Linked DNA regions of Homo sapiens: region 1 is linked to region 2. Evidence: promoter capture Hi-C in 16 types of primary human blood cells and fetal thymus (Javierre and others, 2016). All regions are on one chromosome and are shown on one strand. The core of a region is centred on a gene start or on the middle of the fragment in contact, and the rest is flanking DNA. Distances in the headings are between cores, read along the strand shown.

Region 1 (2,700 bases), core at 193-2,692, 2.9 Mb before region 2:
ATCAAGAATAAGGAACCAAATAAAGTCATGCACGTTCTGTTGACAGAGGAACTCTGTGGCTGTTGAATTTTACTGTAACTAGTTACTCTGTCTTCAGAGTCAACTTAATATACAAGTTATGTCATAATGGATGGAAAGACCTGTGTTGATGTATCCAGACTCTAGCAAATGAAGATAAAAAACCCGTTATGACTAATCCTTGGGAAGAGAAAGTCTGCAAAATGGCTCAAACCAGTTTACTGCAAGGGAAGCAGTTTTACTGTAGGGAGTGGGTTTTCCACAAGCTTCAGCATTGCCTCCAGGAGAAAAGTAACTGCTGCAATAGTGCTGTCAATGCACCATCACTTGTAATGAATTCTGGGAATAATGCTAGTGGTGTCTCTGGAAAGGGAGCTGCCTGGGGTGTGTTGTTGGTAGGAGGGCCTGGCAGTGGCAAGACGGCCCTATGTACTGAACTCTTATGGCCAAGTTCACCTGCAAGTTTGCAGAGAGGTTTACATCGCCAAGCTTTGGCCTTTCATTTCTGCAAAGCCCAGGACTCTGATACTTTGTGTGTTGGAGGGTTTATTAGAGGTCTAGTAGCCCAGATCTGCCGCAGTGGACTACTCCAAGGATATGAGGACAAGCTAAGGGATCCAGCAGTCCAAAGCCTCTTACAGCCTGGGGAGTGCGAGAGAAACCCAGCCGAAGCATTTAAAAGGTAACAATAAAAATGTCATGGTGTTCAGATTTCTATGCTGAAATTAAATTAATTTTTAGTTGTAGTTTTTTGTTTTAACTTTGTGGGTTACTTTTACTGGTGCTGTACATTTGGCCTTAATCTGAAGTTATGAGTATACCTGTTTACTTTGAATATCAAAGGAAGTAAAATTTAGGTTTTGGTATTGCACAGCATATGGATTAAAATGGATTAAAAGTGTATCTTAATTTTACTTAATAACATAATGTTACTTACATTGCCTATAAATGGTAAGGGAAATTTGTTCTTATGGTAGAGAAGCACATTTAGCTGTCTGGAAATAGGTTACATTTTCAGAGGGTGAACTGAACTTAGAGTAATTATCAGTATAGCATCTAGTATCTTTTTATTTTTTTCCTTATAGTAGTAGTATTTTTTTAAGTAAGAAAGGTTTTCTTTAAAGGAGATTATTGGCCACTGAGAATCTGAAGAAAATTTGCTGATGAGTTTTGGGATTTATTCTCCTATTAACTAACTAATTGAAAAACTGGTATTTAGAAGTATGTGAATTTATAAAATAGCGAACATTTGGGATCATCTTACTACTTTTACTTTTAGTGAGTGGTACAAAGAAAGTGTTTTTTCCTAACTTCAGCAAAGCTTTTTTTCCATGGTAAATGGATTGGTCCAGGAAGTGAGCAAGTTGCTTTCCAGAGTGGTTTCAGATTCAAATCTGTTCAAGAAAATATAATTCCTTGAAAACATTTTTTTTTGCATATCATGCCTCTGCTCATTGTAAAAGTAGCAGGCAAATTGTTAGTTTGTGCTTCACTTCTGCTTGAATTACCCATTTTGCCATAAGCTTTTTCTCTACAATAACATTCTTAGCGGGCAAAAGTTTGTTCTCCAAAGATTCTGGTATACTGTGCACTGGAGGTTTGTGTGTGTGTGTGTGTGTGGCTCTCTTCTGCTTGAGTGTGTTTCTAGGAGAGATTTGAATCACTCTAAAAAGAGTGATGTTTGTTTTTATGATATCCTCAAATCTAATGGGGTGAAATCTATACATTTTGAAAGTAATATTGAAAATATTTAATAGTAATTACAGTAAACAGTAAGTGTCAGTCATTATTCTAAGTGCTTTACAAATATTAGATCATTTAATCCTCATAATAATCCTGTGAGGTAGTTACTACTCCCATTTTATAGATGAGGAAACTAAGGTACAGAGAGGCTAAATAAATTGTTCAAGGTTACAGACTAGTAAATGGCAGGGCTGAGATTTTAAATGTGTGTGTGTGTATGTGTGTGTGTGTGTGTGTGTGTGTGTGTATGTGTTAGTAATCTTAGAAATTCTCTGGGGGACTTGATGGGAAGAGGAGGGGTTTAGAAGGTTATGTATGGCAAAGCTGGAGAACAGGAGTTGTGTCACAGTGTGGTTTGAGTGTGGTTTTCAGATTACCCATATAGTGATAGAGGGAGTGGTATTCTAGAATGAGAGTTAGGGATGGTACAGAATTCAAATATGGGAGGAATTTATTAAAGTCAGCCAAAGGGATGTATCTTTGAGAGGTGTGATATTCTTGTAGACTCTTTAATATGTAAATTTAGTCCAATAAAACTAAAGGCAAATCTATTATCTTTTGTTGTTAGCCATCAAAGTCAGCGTTAAAACTGTTGTATCATTCTTAAATTAATGAGGAAATCTGTTAGTTGATGCCTGTGGCATGTGAGATGCAAGGTTTGATGGAGAGTGTTCAATATGGAATCACTGTACAGAATAAATAATGTAGTCTTTAATATAAAACTATACCTTTTAATAGAATTAAAACTGTACATAAGCAACTCTTTTCTTCTTACTGCTTTTTCTGAAGATACTAGTGGCAGAGCAGAATTTTCATTTCTTTGTGATAAGTAATTTCATAAGCTATTTAGGTTTATTGACACCTACCAATAACTTTCAAAGAGCTTAGTCTGAGGTGAACTTAATCTGATGTAACCAAGGTATGTAATTTATAATTTAT
Region 2 (2,773 bases), core at 110-2,609:
TTTTGCTTGGTAGTGTTTTATGACTCTGCTGCAGTTTGTGGAAATGCTGGACTTGGCTCAGTGCTATAAATTGTAGCCAGGAAATAAGAAGAGCTTACACAGAGTCGGGGGATCTTAATTAGACATGCTGTAACCAGTGGAGCTATTCAGCGTGCTTCAAGTGAAGAGTGCAGAAATAGTGATGCCATCTTAGATTTTCCTACACTAGTATCTTCTAGATCTCTTTTTATCATATATGACATTAAGGCTACAGAAGTTTTGTGCATTAATCTTAATTCATATTTATTAATTTCAAGGGAATATTGAAAGGTTTTAAAATGGCATACAGATAATGGAAAATAAGCTTTATGTTTCAAGAAGGGCAGACTCACGAATTTTTTAGAAAACAGTGCTTCTTAATGATATGCTATTATACTTATTAGTTATGTGCAAGCTTTGTATATTCTTATATTTATATATAAATATAAAAATTTGTTAAAGGCACGTATAGTTAAGAGAGTTTTATTTTAATAAGGTCATATTGTTTTTACTATGTTTAAAAAACTTTACTTCTGAAAGGAACATAATTATATCTAGGTCACTAGAACGTCATTGTGTTTTTTGTTGGTTGCCACAGCTTGGGGAAAAATAGAAAAAAATTAATGACTGTATTTGAATATTTTGTAATGCACTGCTATTTATTATATATATCAACAGTAGTTCAAGGTGCCATCTTAAATTAATTGCATCTTCATTAGGAAAAATAAAAAGCATAAAACACAATTTCTGGTTACTATGAATAAACGCCTAAATGTTAAGATGACATTACAGTCTTGACACTTGAGTACTGTATTACTATGTGAGCTCCGTGTTAAATAATTTATGCACATTATTTAATCCTAACAACCATATGACTGTAGTTATTAGTCCCTATTAACACATAAGAAAACGGAGAATCGGAGATACTGAAAAACGTGCCCCAGATTTTAGACCTTTGGAAAAAGTCACTTAAGCTAACTAGACGTCCCAGAGCTAAAGGCTGGGCAACCCAAATGATAGTCGCCAAAGTTTAATTCCGTTTAATTCCCTAAAAGGCTTAGAGTCAGCCTTCGGACAGCCTCGCTCACTAGGTGGCTCAGCTTAAAATAATCGGAAGCGTCGGGCCCTAAATCCTACCTCTCCCCGCCCCGCGCAGGCGTTTTCTCCCGCCCCAGCCAGTTTGTTTCTCCCTCCTGCCCCGCCCCTGCTCAGTTTCCTTTGGTTTACCCTTCACTCGCCTGCGACCCTGTCGCCTTGAATGACGTCAAGGCCGCGAGCGCTTTCATTGGTCCATTTCAATAGTCGCGGGATACTTGAACTGCAAGAACAGCCGCCGCTCCGGCGGGCTGCTCGCTGCATCTCTGGGCGTCTTTGGCTCGCCACGCTGGGCAGTGCCTGCCTGCGCCTTTCGCAACCTCCTCGGCCCTGCGTGGTCTCGAGCTGGGTGAGCGAGCGGGCGGGCTGGTAGGCTGGCCTGGGCTGCGACCGGCGGCTACGACTATTCTTTGGCCGGGTCGGTGCGAGTGGTCGGCTGGGCAGAGTGCACGCTGCTTGGCGCCGCAGGCTGATCCCGCCGTCCACTCCCGGGAGCAGTGATGTTGGGCAACTCTGCGCCGGGGCCTGCGACCCGCGAGGCGGGCTCGGCGCTGCTAGCATTGCAGCAGACGGCGCTCCAAGAGGACCAGGAGAATATCAACCCGGAAAAGGCAGCGCCCGTCCAACAACCGCGGACCCGGGCCGCGCTGGCGGTACTGAAGTCCGGGAACCCGCGGGGTCTAGCGCAGCAGCAGAGGCCGAAGACGAGACGGGTAAAGGGATGCGGGATATCTGCAGGAGGGTGGGTCGAGCAGGGTTTGGCATTGGCTTAGCAGGCAGAGAAGAGTGGCGAGAAGGCATGTCCTGGGCTTTTGGAAGGGGGCCAGGGTCTGGAGTGCAGTTGGTGCTGGTGTGTGGTTTGCCACAGTAGGAGTTCTCCCATATTAGCATCAGGACCCCGCCAACACTGTGTGTATGCTGCCGGTCTGCTCTCTATAGGGGGCATCTGCCTGTACATAATGGGGTCAAACCAAGCTCTAAAACGTGTAGTCTTCGCTCAGCTCCGCGCCTTTCTCTCCACTTTTAAACCCCAGGCACTGCTGTAGGACTCTGACCCCTATCCTCCTCACGCTTAAGAGATGACCTCTACTTTAGAAAAGCGTGTACAAAATACTTTGCTTTTGGCAAATTCCGCCATTTTAGCCGGATTTGCTCTGTTGCTCCACCCTCGGGCGACAGTGGTGAACCAACAATTTTTTTGCTGTCTTTCCTAAACTTGTCACGTATTGGCCTGTCACCCGACCCTTCTTGTGGCCCTGATAAGTTTTGCATAATTCCACCTAGTGTTATCTATTGATAGCCTTTGTGGGAATGCCTGTGACAAATGGGAACATCCCTTCTCTTTTGAATACTGAAACTCTTCTTTGTCCCAGAAAGTTTAATTCCTGATAGAGTATTTGGGAGAAAAAGCAAAGGCCAACACCCATAAGAGAAAGAATGCAAGACTAGTAGGCTCAAAGCCAGTTATTAATTTTTTTTTAGGTTGCACCCCTTAAGGATCTTCCTGTAAATGATGAGCATGTCACCGTTCCTCCTTGGAAAGCAAACAGTAAACAGCCTGCGTTCACCATTCATGTGGATGAAGCAGAAAAAGAAGCTCAGAAGAAGCCAGCTGAATCTCAAAAAATAGAGCGTGAAGATGCCCTGGCTTTTAATTCAG

The links. Contacts are between HindIII fragments. The CHiCAGO score rates a contact against its expected background, and 5 or more counts as called.
Region 1: a contact is called between a fragment that was not itself captured here and the fragment with the promoter of CCNA2 in region 2, in 1 of 17 cell types (fetal thymus). The highest score is 5.7, in fetal thymus.

What each region holds. Positions count from the first base shown.
Region 1 is chr4:124,708,000-124,710,699 of GRCh38, reverse strand. ANKRD50 (ankyrin repeat domain containing 50) reads left to right here. Exons shown (of 5, transcript NM_020337.3): 2 at 1-700. The coding sequence starts at 189. Among named protein-coding and RNA genes, the nearest start is that of ANKRD50, 3.4 kb to the left of the region's middle. The HindIII fragment of the contact is 202 bases long and covers 1,342-1,543 here.
Region 2 is chr4:121,822,469-121,825,241 of GRCh38, reverse strand. CCNA2 (cyclin A2) reads left to right here and starts at 1,359. Exons shown (of 8, transcript NM_001237.5): 1 at 1,359-1,826; 2 at 2,596-2,773. The coding sequence starts at 1,614. It overlaps BBS7 (Bardet-Biedl syndrome 7), which reads left to right. Exons shown (of 19, transcript NM_176824.3): 19 at 1-913. RefSeq lists enhancers at 1,511-1,580, 1,771-1,820. The HindIII fragment of the contact is 5,182 bases long and covers 436-2,773 here.